Linked DNA regions of Homo sapiens: regions 1 and 2 are each linked to region 3. The links are contacts of gene promoters, found by promoter capture Hi-C in human tissues and cell types (Jung and others, 2019). All regions are on one chromosome and are shown on one strand. The core of a region is centred on a gene start or on the middle of the fragment in contact, and the rest is flanking DNA. Distances in the headings are between cores, read along the strand shown.

Region 1 (4,156 bases), core at 521-3,020, 670 kb after region 3:
ACACAGAGCCAAACCATATCAACATATACTCGATCTCTTGAAATTATTCCACCTAACTAAATTTTGTGTCTTTCAACCAACATCCCTCTTCCTCCCAACCCGCAGCCTCTGGTAACTGCCTTCTACTTCTGTTCCTATAAGTTTGACTTTTGTATATTACACATACAGCTATAAGTGAGATGAGGCAGAATTTATCTTTCTGCGACTCCAGAGATTAAATGACTGTGCTACCACTCTGCTGATTCCTACCTCTAATCTCATGTATTGTGATGTCCCTTTTCTTTTTCCCTCCACTAAACTATACACTCTTTTGAGGACAGAGACCAAGTCTTCTTCTTCATTAAACAGCCAGGCCAGAACAATGCTTCAAAAACCTATTAGACATTTAATCATGGTTGAACAGACACATGGCTTTGTCTAAACTATCTGAGCATATGTGCAGGCATACCTGGTTTTATTGCACTTCACAGATATTTTTTTACAAATGAGGATTGGTGGCAGTCCTGGATTGAGCAAGTGTATTGATGCCATTTTTCCACATGCACATGTTCACCTTGTGTCTCTGCCTCACATTTTGGTAAGTCGCACAATATTCCCAATGTTGTCATTATTTTTATATCTGTTACGGTAATCTGTGATCAGTGATGTTTGGTGTTACTGTTGTAATTGTTTTGGGGTGTCATGACTCATACCCATAGAAGATGGCAAGCTTAATCGATAAATGTGTGTGTGCTGACTATTCCACCAAGTAGGCATTTCCTCATCTCTCTCCCTCTGCTTGGGCCTCCCTAATCCCTGAAACAACAACAATATTAAAATCAGTCCAATTAATAACCCTTAATGACCTCTAAGTGTTCAAGTGAAAGGAAGAGTTGTGCATTTCTCAGCTTAAATCAAAAGCTAGAAATGATTAAGCTTAGTGAGGAAGGCATGTCGAAAGCTGAGCTACATTGAAAGCTAGCGCTCTTGCACCAAACAGTTAGCCAAGTTGTGAAGCCAAAGGCAAAGTTCTTGAAGGAAATTAAAAGTTCTACTCCAGTGAACACATTAAAGATAAGAGAGTGAAATAGTCTTATTGCTGACAGAGGTTGAGCATCTCAAATCCAAACATTCAAAATGTGAAATGTTCTAAAATCTGAAAATTTTTGAGTGCCAACATGATGCTCAAAGGAAGTGCTCACTGGAGCATTTGAGATCTCAGATTTTTGAATTTGGGATGTTCAACCAATAAGTATGATGCAAATATTCCAAAATCTGAAAAACTCTGAAATCCAAAATACTTCTGATCCCATGGATTCCAAATAAGGGATACTCAACTTGTATGGAGAAAATTATAGTGGTCTGCATAGATGAAAGGAGCCACAACATCCCTTAAGTCAAAGCCTACTCCAGAGCAAGGCCCTAATTCTCTTCAATTCAAAGCTGACAAAGAAGCTGCAGCAAGTTACCCAACAGATCTAGCTAAGATCATTGATTAAGGTGGCTACACTAAACAACAGATTTTCAATGAAGATGAAGCAGCCTTATATTGGTAAAGATGCCATCTAGGACTTTGTAGCTAGAGAGGAGAAGACAATGGCTGACTTCAAAGCTTCAAAGGTCAGACCAATTTTCTTGTTAGGGGCTAATACAGCTAGTGACTTTAAGTTGAAGCCAATGCTCATTTAATATTCTGAAAATCCTAGGACCCTTAAGAACTACACTACCTCTACTCTGTGCTTTATAAATGGAATAACAAAACCTGAATGATAGCACATCTATTTACATATAAAACAAAGTATTCATTCTATGATATAATTGAAATACATTTGGAGTTCCTATCTGAAAACATTCTACTAAGCACTACAAAAGACAGAGAGAGAAGTAAATACGTAGGCAAGCATAGGCTCTATTGAGGTTAGAATTAAAATGACTATTGTATAAGAAATGAAAATGTTTACATAAGTCACCATAAGTCCATTAAAACAAAATAATGTTTTAAAGGAAGGGATTTGAAAAAAAAATCCAAAACTAAACCAAATGCTATAGAGAGTAAAAGGAAGGGTGGATTATAAATGATTGAGGGAATGTGGCAAGGCTCCATAGAGGAGGTGGTTTGGGTTGGCCTTAAAGGATAGTTAGTTAGAAGGTTTTTTCTTTTTTTTTTTTTTTTTTTCAATGTCCATAGGTTTCTATTCTCACCATCTTTCTGTTACAGGCGACAGGAATTTCAGAGAACTTTTCTAATCACAAGCTCTCCAGAGTCCATCTGCAATGCCATGTATTCACTAGACCCGATCCAGATCCTATTAAAACTCAGCATACTGCTTAGTATGCTGAGAAGAAAGCGCTCATCAGTTTGATGCAAACTTCTCAGATTGGGCAGCTACAATTAGAGTAAATACAACTGTTGTATCCTAGAGACCAAGGCCAGCTCCCTATGACTTTCCCTTGGTGTTGCCACAACTGCCAAATAGGGATGATTACAAATCTTGTTCCTTTCCACAAAAGGGCTCTTATGAACTGTAATGATAAAATATTGACAAAACACTTTTGAATTTGTGGTTAAGATATTCCTGGAATATCTCAATGAACGCAGAGTTTTGGGTTTAAAGATCAAAGAATGAGGTCTAATAAATGATGTATTTCAGTTTAAGGCTTAAATTATATCTTTCAGCCTCCACGATTCCTGGAATTATTCTTTGTATTCAGTTTTCTGCTAACAACTATTTGTGTGGTAGTTTTTTGAGAAACCATATTACTGGATTCTTAAATATCTTGTAAACTGCTCTCTATCTGCTAGTAAAGTTCTTCAGTGGTGATTGGATTAGATCTGTCTGAATATTTAATATCAGCAATACCCTTCATCGGTGGTAGTGAAATGCAAGGCAGGAGAAAAAATCCCTCTCACTGACTGTACAACTAAGCCTTCTGCCTGGTACCAACTGCACCAGTGAAACAGAAACTCAACAAATGCTTGGTAATCTTCATCTTTCTGTAATATCAACGAATATATCTTAAAACTTAGATAATTCGTATATGGTTTCTTTCACCCAAATAGCCATCAGAGAACTACAGGCATAACACAGAGATATTCAAAGTTTCTTTCCAGTCCACTAAAATAAAGCAGATATTACATTAAAGCATCACACAAATTTTTTATTTAATTCTAACCTCAATAGAGCCTATGCTTGCCTATGTATTTACTTCTGTGTCTCGTAGTGCGTAGCAGAATGTTTTCATATAGGAACTCCAAATGTATTTCAATTATATCATAGAATGAATGTTAAAGGATTTGGTCTGTCAATCATAAAACAATTCCCAGCTATGTTAATTTATACTAATTAACTCCTCCCAAGGAGTTGAAAAGTTAAAATAGTCTATAATGGTATTAATTTATTTACTTATTCAGCAGATTTTCTTGAACATTTATTATATAAGCCAGACAGTGGGAATATAGCAGAGTATAAAAAATAAAAGATGGTTTTGTTTTGTTTTGTTTTGTTTTGTTTGTTTCCTTGGGTATTTAGAAATCCTAAGGTAGTCAGTCCAGGGCTGTTCTATGGAGTAAAGCCTTGTCTAATTCAAACATATAAATCAATGCTGTAGCTCAATGTGTACCATTCATTAGATTGATGACTTGGAATGTCCTAGGTAGAAACAAAATCTGATAGTATTTTAGTCATTGTGAGGTGTAGATTTTCAATAGGGAAGGCATAACTTAGCAATGACATCATAAATGGTTCCTAGGCAGAAAAAAAAAAGAAACAAAATGACTTACACCAGTCCAGTCTATTTTTTTTAATTATGAAAATGATAGATTTCTTGGAAGGTCCTCCTAGGAATATTCCAGTCATATCTCATGGCCTGAAATGGATCCTATGGCCACCTGATATGGCAAAAGGGTCTGAGGAGATAATAAATTTTCATTGAGTATGTAATTATCCTGAACAAAATTTATTTTTGTTTCATTTTGTTTTAAGAAAGAAAGGGAGTGGGTAGGGTACAGGCTAAGGTGCTATAATTGAAAACCTCAAAGTGCAGTGGTATAAAAGTCTAGAGTTAAGTGGACACTCTAAGGCTAGTGGCATCTCTGCCTTCTTTAACTTATGGCCCCTACTTGTAGACCTAAGATGGCATTTCAGTCTCATTCTAAGCATCTGGAAAAGGAGAAGAA
Region 2 (3,840 bases), core at 378-2,877, 870 kb after region 3:
CTCCCAAAGTGCTGGGATTACAGGCATGAGCCACTGCGCCTGGCCAGGGCTATGACTTTTAATAGGTGAAATATTAAATACTTATTAAATTACAAATAAATCTTTATGGAAATGTGAGGTAACTGGAAATAAAGCTGTAGGGAACATCTAGTTTTAAACTATATAACAAAGAAATGACAAAGAGGATGATGATGGGTGGGTAAAGAATGTAGGTAAAAGTAAACTTTTTACTTTGAAAGATATGACTATATTAATAATTAAAATTAAGTGTTAAACTGTAATTTCAAATAAGAAGTTAGCAGTCTGTTAACTTTCAAGAACACATTTTAAAAATAGCTCAAGGAAGCCGTCAATTAGTGGACAGTTTGCCGTTCATGTTGTATGTGAGAAATCCCCTTGCACTTTTGGTAAGTATTCTTCTCACCCTCATTTTACACCACAGAGACCTTCTTGCATTATATCCTAACATGTGTTAAAATAAATATATGAGCAAAATTAAAAATTAGATCTTCAGTCTGGGCACAGTGCTTCATGCCCGTAATCCCAGCACTTTGGGAGGCTGAGGAGGATGGATCACCTGAGGTCAGGAGTTCAAGACCAGCCTGGCCAACATGGTGAAACCCCGTCTCTACTAAAAATGCAAAAATTAGCCAGGCGTGGTGGTACACATCTGCAGTCCCAGGCACTTGGGAGGCTGAGGCAGAATTGCTTGAATGCAGGAGGCAGAGGTTGCATTGAGCCGAGATCGTGCCACTGTACTCCAGCCTAGGCGACAGAGAGACACTCTGTCTCAAAAAAAAAAAAAAAAGAAAGAAAAAGAAAAAGAAAAAGAAATTAGATTTTCAAAATCATTATTTTCTTTTTTTAAACTGTAGTTGCTAATAGAAAAAGATGCTCAAGATTGAACTTTTGATATCATAATAGGTTCCAGAGACTTTGGTAGTTCAAGAGAGCTGGATTTGGATGCAATCTAGACCACTTTGGGTGAATCTGATCACAATTGCCTGTTGCTTAGATTCTCCCCTGGCTTCACATTACTTTCTGGGTAAAGATCCAAGTCTTTCAAACAACTTCAAGGTCCTACTCTGGTCTGGCTGTTTTCCCTCACCAGACTCCTGTTACACCAGTTCTCTTCTCTTCTCTTTTCTTTCTGTTTTTACACACTCTCTTGCTTTCTACCCTGCAGTTATGAAGGCTACTTTTTAGTTGCTCAGAAGCACCTCTCTCCTGCAACAGGGCCTTATTACATGCTATTCCCTGATGCACTTTTCTTATTAACCTTATTTGCTTTATTAACTCTTATTTATCTTTCTCTTTTCATTCTCTTTCTTTCTTTTTTTTTAGACGCGTCTTGCTATGTCACCCAGGCCGGAATGCAGTAGTCCTATCCTGGCTCACTGCAGCCTTGAACTTCTGGGCTCAAGCAGTCCTCCTAATTCAGACTCCTGAATAGCTGAGACCACAGGCATGCACCACCGCCATGCCTGGCTAATTAACTTTTTTTTTTTTGTAGAGACAGTTCTCACAATGTTGCCCACGATGGCCTACTTATCTTTCAAATCTCTGTTGTCATATTCTCAGGAAAGCTTTTTCTGACTTCTCTGACTAGGTGAAATCCCACCTTTTTTTCTCATGACCTTCTCCGGTGCAACTATACATGTAATTGTGATTGTTTCATTAATAACTGTCTCTTTCACTGTATTTTAAGGTCCATGAGGGCTGGAATCCAAGTCTGGTTTTGCCCACCATTGTATTTCCAGAACCGAAGGGCCTAATACATACAGGGAGCTCAAACATTAGTTTTCAATAGGATGAATGAGCCAGGCGCGGTGGCTCACGCCTGTAATCCCAGCACTTTGGGAGGCCGAGGCGGGCGAATCACGAGGTCAGGAGATTGAGACCATCCTGGCTAACATGGTGAAACCCCGTCTCTACTAAAAATACAAAAAATTATCTGGGCGTGGTGGCAGGCGCCTGTAGTCCCAGCTACTCTGGAGGCTGAGGCAGGAGAATAGCATGCACCTGGGAGGCGGAACTTGCAGTGAGCTGAGATCGCGCCACTGCACTCCAGCCTGGGGACAGAGCGAGACTCCGTCTCAAAAAAAAAAAAAAAAAAAAAAAAAAAGGATGAATGAATAAATGACTGAAATAATTAACCTTAGTCCCCACCTGTAAAAGAGGGGCATGGGGTCACTTGGAAGATTGGATGACATAAAGTATCTACCCAGCCTAGCATGTGGGAAGTTCTCAATAAGTAGCTGCAATAACTTCAGTTAAATGGGGCTTGATAGTTTATTTAGTAAAATTAGCTGTTTTGCTTCCATCCTTTCAAAAAGCTTTAAACTTAGTAGAATTTGATTTATTTTATGTTTGCATAAACACAGGAATAATAATTTAGAGATTTAGAATAAGTTTTAACTGTATTTAGCTATATTTACCTAGTAATAGACAGTGTTTCTTACATTAAATCTTAACCATACATTGACTTTTCTTTCATGTATGACTTCTTCAAAGTACATAAAACATTTTAGGGAAGAAGGGACCTGTTTAGCCGATATGGTTGTTTCTAACTAGAATATCTACTCATTGAATTATTTGTTCAGGAAATCTGGAGGCTTGAGAATGTAAATTCCCTCTTATTTGAGGGAACATTTAGGATATTATCCAACATTTAGGCTCTTATCCAACACTGGATTGAAGTATATATTTTTGGAATGTAGCCCTGTATCTGAAATGGTTTAGAAGCTCCATCCCCCATTAGGAGGAACAGGTACATTCACCTATAATAAATTATGTAATGGCATAGGTATTTGTTGTACAGTAGAATGCAGTGGTATTTCACTGTTTTGAATTCTTTAGGCTACTATGATCCTGTAAATGTGAATTTGTATAGGAGTTAGAATAAAAATCACTGGCCGGGTGTGGTGGCTCACACTTGTAATCCCAGCACTAATTTTAAATGGTTTATTAGGAAGCTAAAATTCTCTACATATATACTGAGGGTGTGAGTGAAAAAGACTCTTAGGTTTGTAGCAAGTACAATAACCTTACAATGGAATTCAGTTCTAGGCAGAAGATGAAATACTTGAGTTCCAAGAAAGAGTCCTATAAGTCTGAGACATCATCACGGCATTTCAACACCAGGCAGGGCCAGGGATTGTGGCAGTAGACAAACGATTCTGTTTTTTTTTTTTAATTATTCTTTTTTATTATACCTTAAGTTCTGGGAGACATGTGCAGAACGTGCAGGTTTTTACATAGGTGTACATGTGCCATGGTGGTTAGCTGCACCCATCAACCCATCATCTAGGTTTTAAGCCCTGCATGCATTACATATTTGTCCTGATGCTCTCCCTCCCCTTGTCCCCCATCCCCCGACAGGCCCCGGTGTGGTGTTCCCCTCCCTGTGTCCATGTGTTCTCATTGTTCAACTCCAACTTATGATTGAGAATATGTGGTGTTTGGTTTTCTGTTCCTGTGTTAGTTTGCTGAGAATGATGATTTCCAGATTGATCCATGTGCCTGCAAAGGACATGAACTCATTCTTTTTTATGGCTGCATAGTATTCCGTGGTGTATATGTGCCACATTTTCTTTATCCAGTCTATCATTGCTGGGCATTTGGGTTGGTTCCAAGTCTTTGCTGTTGTAAATAGTGCTACAATAAACATACCTGTGCATGTGTCTTTATAGTAGAATGATTTATAATCCTTTGGGTATATACCCAGTAATGGGATTCCTGGGTCAAATGGTATTTCTGGTTCCAGATCCTTGAGGAATCACCACACTGTCTTCCACAATGGTTGAACTAATTTACACTCCCACCAAGAGTGTAAAAGTA
Region 3 (3,871 bases), core at 1,368-3,867:
ATACCAGGGATTGAAAATATTATTGGATGTTGCTTAAGGTCTGTAAAATGGTAAAGAATATTGTTATTCCCACTGCATCTCAAGTAAGTTTCTCCTAGTGGGACAACTCAGTGCCTCTGCTTGTAATGGTCCATTACAGGTCACATGGGCTTAGTTGTAAAGTGGGCAAAAGAAGCTCAGAATGGCTCTTTTGGGGATGATGAATAAGAATTATTATTTTACATAGATCAAGAAGGTGGGATTTAAAGAAGTCAGATTGGCTCTTTGTGATACATTGCTATCTTTTTATGTCTTCTGCACGTTTCACAGTAGTGGTGGCTAGGAAGAGGAAAGAGACAAGGACTCTTCTTTATTAGGTGCATTATGCTTAATATAGTGCTTAATATGGTGGAGGCTCTGATGTCTGTCATCACCTACTAGTGATTTGGCATTAGCCAAGTTCATGAAACTCCTTGTGCCTTATTTTCCCCCCTCATCTGTTAACCAAGGAGTGCAACTGTGCCTATATCATGAAGTTCTGGTGAGGCTAAAATAATAGATGTATAGTACTGGCTTAGAAAGGGCTCTATACTAGTAAGCTGTTGTTCTACTTCTCCTTCCCCTCTTTCTCTTCCTCATTACAAATACGCTTTCCTGCTGAATTTGTTACTCCACTAGATTAGCAAAATGTTCAGAGAATCTGGGAGGAGGGTAAAATAGAAAGAATCTGTTACTCTATCAGGATTCAAGATGTCTGCTTTTGGTCAGATCTTTGATTTTTACTTTTATGTTCTCAGTGCTGCATTGGGTGTAAGAAATGGTCTCTGCCCTGAGCAGCCATCTATTTGAGAAACAGATGAACACATGAATGATTAATGAAAACACATATGCATATAAAATTAAGTTCTAAATAAATCTTATAGATCGTAAGTGATATAAGGATCTAATTTCAGTTTGCTGATACTGGCTGTTGTTTTGGTCATCGAGAGGCAATACCATTTGGAGTGAAATTGTGAGAGTGAGCGTTTGTACCAGTAATACCAATAAAATGGCATATGTTTATTGGCTTAGAAACTAAAATACATTAAGATCAAAACAAGGCAAGTTTAACAATATTTAAGTATGAGATATCACTGCCTCTTATTGTTAGCACAGTAATGCTTTATGCTATTAGACATGTCAAAACGGCACAAATAGGAAGAGTTGATGAATGCTTTAAAAAGAACTATGAGGAAGGCTTACATTTTTTAGTTGTCAATCTCTCAAAGAGTTTCTGTTTTTATTCTATCTTGCTATTTTAACCAGTTGATTAGGCTCACCCAGTGGCAGTCTTCATTTCAAGGATCTCCTCTGGACATTCATGAAGGAAATAAATGGGGCTCCAGATCCCTTTCCTTCCCTTCAGGGCGCTCCACTGTAAGATCATTTAGGGAAAATGTGGTGTTATGTTAAAAACATAGCTGGGCCACATCAAGCAGCATCATAGTTTTTAGGGTATAGAACGTTGGTCTTCAGGTTAAAAGGTACTTTTCGCTGCTCTGTCATACTCTTCTACTTGCTAGAGAAATATGCTTTATGCCGTGTCATGTGTGGTTAACCAGACAGTGAGATACTACTAACAGTGCTCCCAAGTGATTCCTTGCTGTTAAATCAATTGGAATTATTGAGTATTACCACAAAATAATCCTATCTGATTTCATTACTTTCTTCTAACGTCCTTCCAGTAACCTAGAACTCTAGAGACCTCTTTCTTTGAGAGTTGTCTGGAGAGTCCGTTGGATTTTTAAATCTCTTATTACCAAAAAGTGGAAAAAAGAGTTTAAAAAGTAACCAAAGAGCTAGTGCCTGTAGTCTCAGCTACTCCAGAGGCTGAGGCAGGTGGATAGCTTGGGCCGAGGAGTTCGAGGCTACAGTGAGCCATGACTGCGCCTGCTAACAGCCACTGCACTCCAGTCTGGGCAATATAGTGAGACCCCATCTCTAAAAAAACAACAAACAAAAACAAAAATTACCCCACAGAAGAATTTCAGGGCAGTGGAAATACTCTGTAGGATACTATAATGATGGATACCTGCCATTACACATTTGTTCTAACTCGAGGAGTATACAACAACCTGAGTGAACCCTGAGGTAACTATGGACTTTGAGTGATGATGAGGTGTCAATGCAGGTTCATCAGTCGTAACACATGTACCACTCTGAGGGGGGATGTTGATAATGGTGGGGGGTTATGCATGCGTAGGAGCCAAGTGTATATGGGATATCTCTGTAACTTCTCAATTTTTCTGTAAACTCTAACTACTCTATATTAGTCTTTAAAAAATCGCTTATCTTACGAATGATTTTGAATAAGCGTTTTGGGAATGTTCTAGAGATGAATCTCCTCCCCATGTCCTACGCTGGGTGAGGAAGTGTCGGGTACCCGGGCGACCTGTCCTCAGGTGTTCTAGGAACGCGGCCCCATCCCTTGTCAGCCTCTGTCTCTGTGTGGTGAGAAGGCGCACTGGCTCGTGCCTGCGCGAAACTCGCGCACACAGAAAAGACCAATCAAGGACGGGTCATTCCCGCCCCCCGCGCGCCTTTTGCGACCGCCCACTCGACAGGTTGACAACCTAGACAGCTCCCCCGGACTTGCCTTACTTTTCCATCTCCTCCCACCCAGCTATACCCTCCCACTGGCGGCGCGGATGGCACGCCGGCGGAGCCAGCGAGTCTGCGCGAGCGGTCCGAGCATGCTCAATAGCGCGCGCGGCGCCCCGGAGCTTCTCCGCGGAACCGCGACCAACGCGGAGGTCTCGGCGGCCGCTGCGGGAGCCACAGGAAGTGAAGAGCTTCCGCCGGGAGACCGCGGCTGCAGGAACGGAGGCGGAAGGGGCCCTGCGGCGACGACGTCGTCGACGGGGGTGGCCGTGGGAGCTGAGCACGGAGAAGACTCCCTCTCTCGGAAGCCGGATCCCGAGCCGGGCAGGATGGATCACCACCAGCCGGGGACTGGGCGCTACCAGGTGGTGAGTTCCCGGCCTCCTGTGCCTCCCGGGACTGCCTCCCGCCGCGGCGTCCCGAGAGTCCCTTTCCTCAGGTTATTCCCGGAGGAAAAGCTGTGGCTTTTTTTTGTTGTGTTTTGTTTTGTTTTTTTGGATCTTCTGGCTGGAGCTGCTTCACTCGCCTCACCTGCGCACTCCTGCCTAGGACTCCTTCGAAACCCTTCTCTCTCGCCCCAAGTCTGCTTAGCTCCTCACCCGCACCCTTAGCCCCGCTGTGAGACGCCCTCCCTCCACACACCTTACAACTTGTATCCGTTTTAATTTCTCACTTTATCATTTTCTTATTCTCTGACTCAGTCACTCCTGAGACATTCTAGTCGATTGTCTACTGGAAATGGGGCTGACTTCACATACCTGCCCGGAAGGTGATCGCCGTCATAAATGGGGTGGGTGAGTAGGTGGGTGGAGGTGTAAGTACTGCGTGGGGTGGGATGTGGATTTGGCAAAAATGTGGGTTAGGAATTGTGGAACTGTAGAGAAAGACTAGCCATAATGCTGATCTTGTCTCTCTGCTCGTTAACCTTGTCATTTTGTCCTTTTCCATTATGTTAGTATTAAAAATGACTGTATTTTTTGGTAATCCCCACTTTTTCTTTCTTTCTTTCTTTCTTTTTTTTTTTTTTTTTTTTTTTTTTGGTTAGAGGGGAAACAGAGGTAGTTTTAGTAGAACAAATTCTAATCTTGTTTGAAAAATTATTTTTCGTTAAATACAAGGTTTTCCAGCTTAACTGTGTAAACTTTGGTAACTATGTTGAAAAAAGTGAAATGTGTTCCTCTATATTTTCAGTGTCAATTTTTAAATATATTTTTCTTTGTGTATTCTGGTGGTGACGTTGGAGATTCCTGTT

What was found. The method cuts DNA at HindIII sites, captures the fragments that hold promoters and counts their contacts. A contact is called where the count stands out against the background at its distance.
Region 1: a contact is called between a fragment that was not itself captured here and the fragment with the promoter of NDFIP2 in region 3, in 1 of the 25 tissues and cell types used here (mesendoderm cells).
Region 2: a contact is called between a fragment that was not itself captured here and the fragment with the promoter of NDFIP2 in region 3, in 1 of the 25 tissues and cell types used here (dorsolateral prefrontal cortex).

The regions. Positions count from the first base shown.
Region 1 is chr13:80,147,549-80,151,704 of GRCh38, forward strand. All of the region lies in intron 2 of LOC105370275 (a long non-coding RNA gene), which reads right to left. Among named protein-coding and RNA genes, the nearest start is that of LINC01080, 140 kb to the left of the region's middle. RefSeq lists a silencer at 1-72. The HindIII fragment of the contact is 4,552 bases long and covers 1-4,046 here.
Region 2 is chr13:80,347,478-80,351,317 of GRCh38, forward strand. No RefSeq gene overlaps it. Among named protein-coding and RNA genes, the nearest start is that of SPRY2, 8.3 kb to the left of the region's middle. The HindIII fragment of the contact is 4,436 bases long and covers 1-3,840 here.
Region 3 is chr13:79,478,538-79,482,408 of GRCh38, forward strand. It overlaps NDFIP2 (Nedd4 family interacting protein 2), which reads left to right and starts at 2,618. Exons shown (of 8, transcript NM_019080.3): 1 at 2,618-2,987. The coding sequence starts at 2,667. It overlaps NDFIP2-AS1 (NDFIP2 antisense RNA 1), which reads right to left and starts at 2,694. Exons shown (of 3, transcript NR_046685.1): 1 at 2,615-2,694; 2 at 1,299-1,393. The HindIII fragment of the contact is 15,126 bases long and covers 1-3,871 here.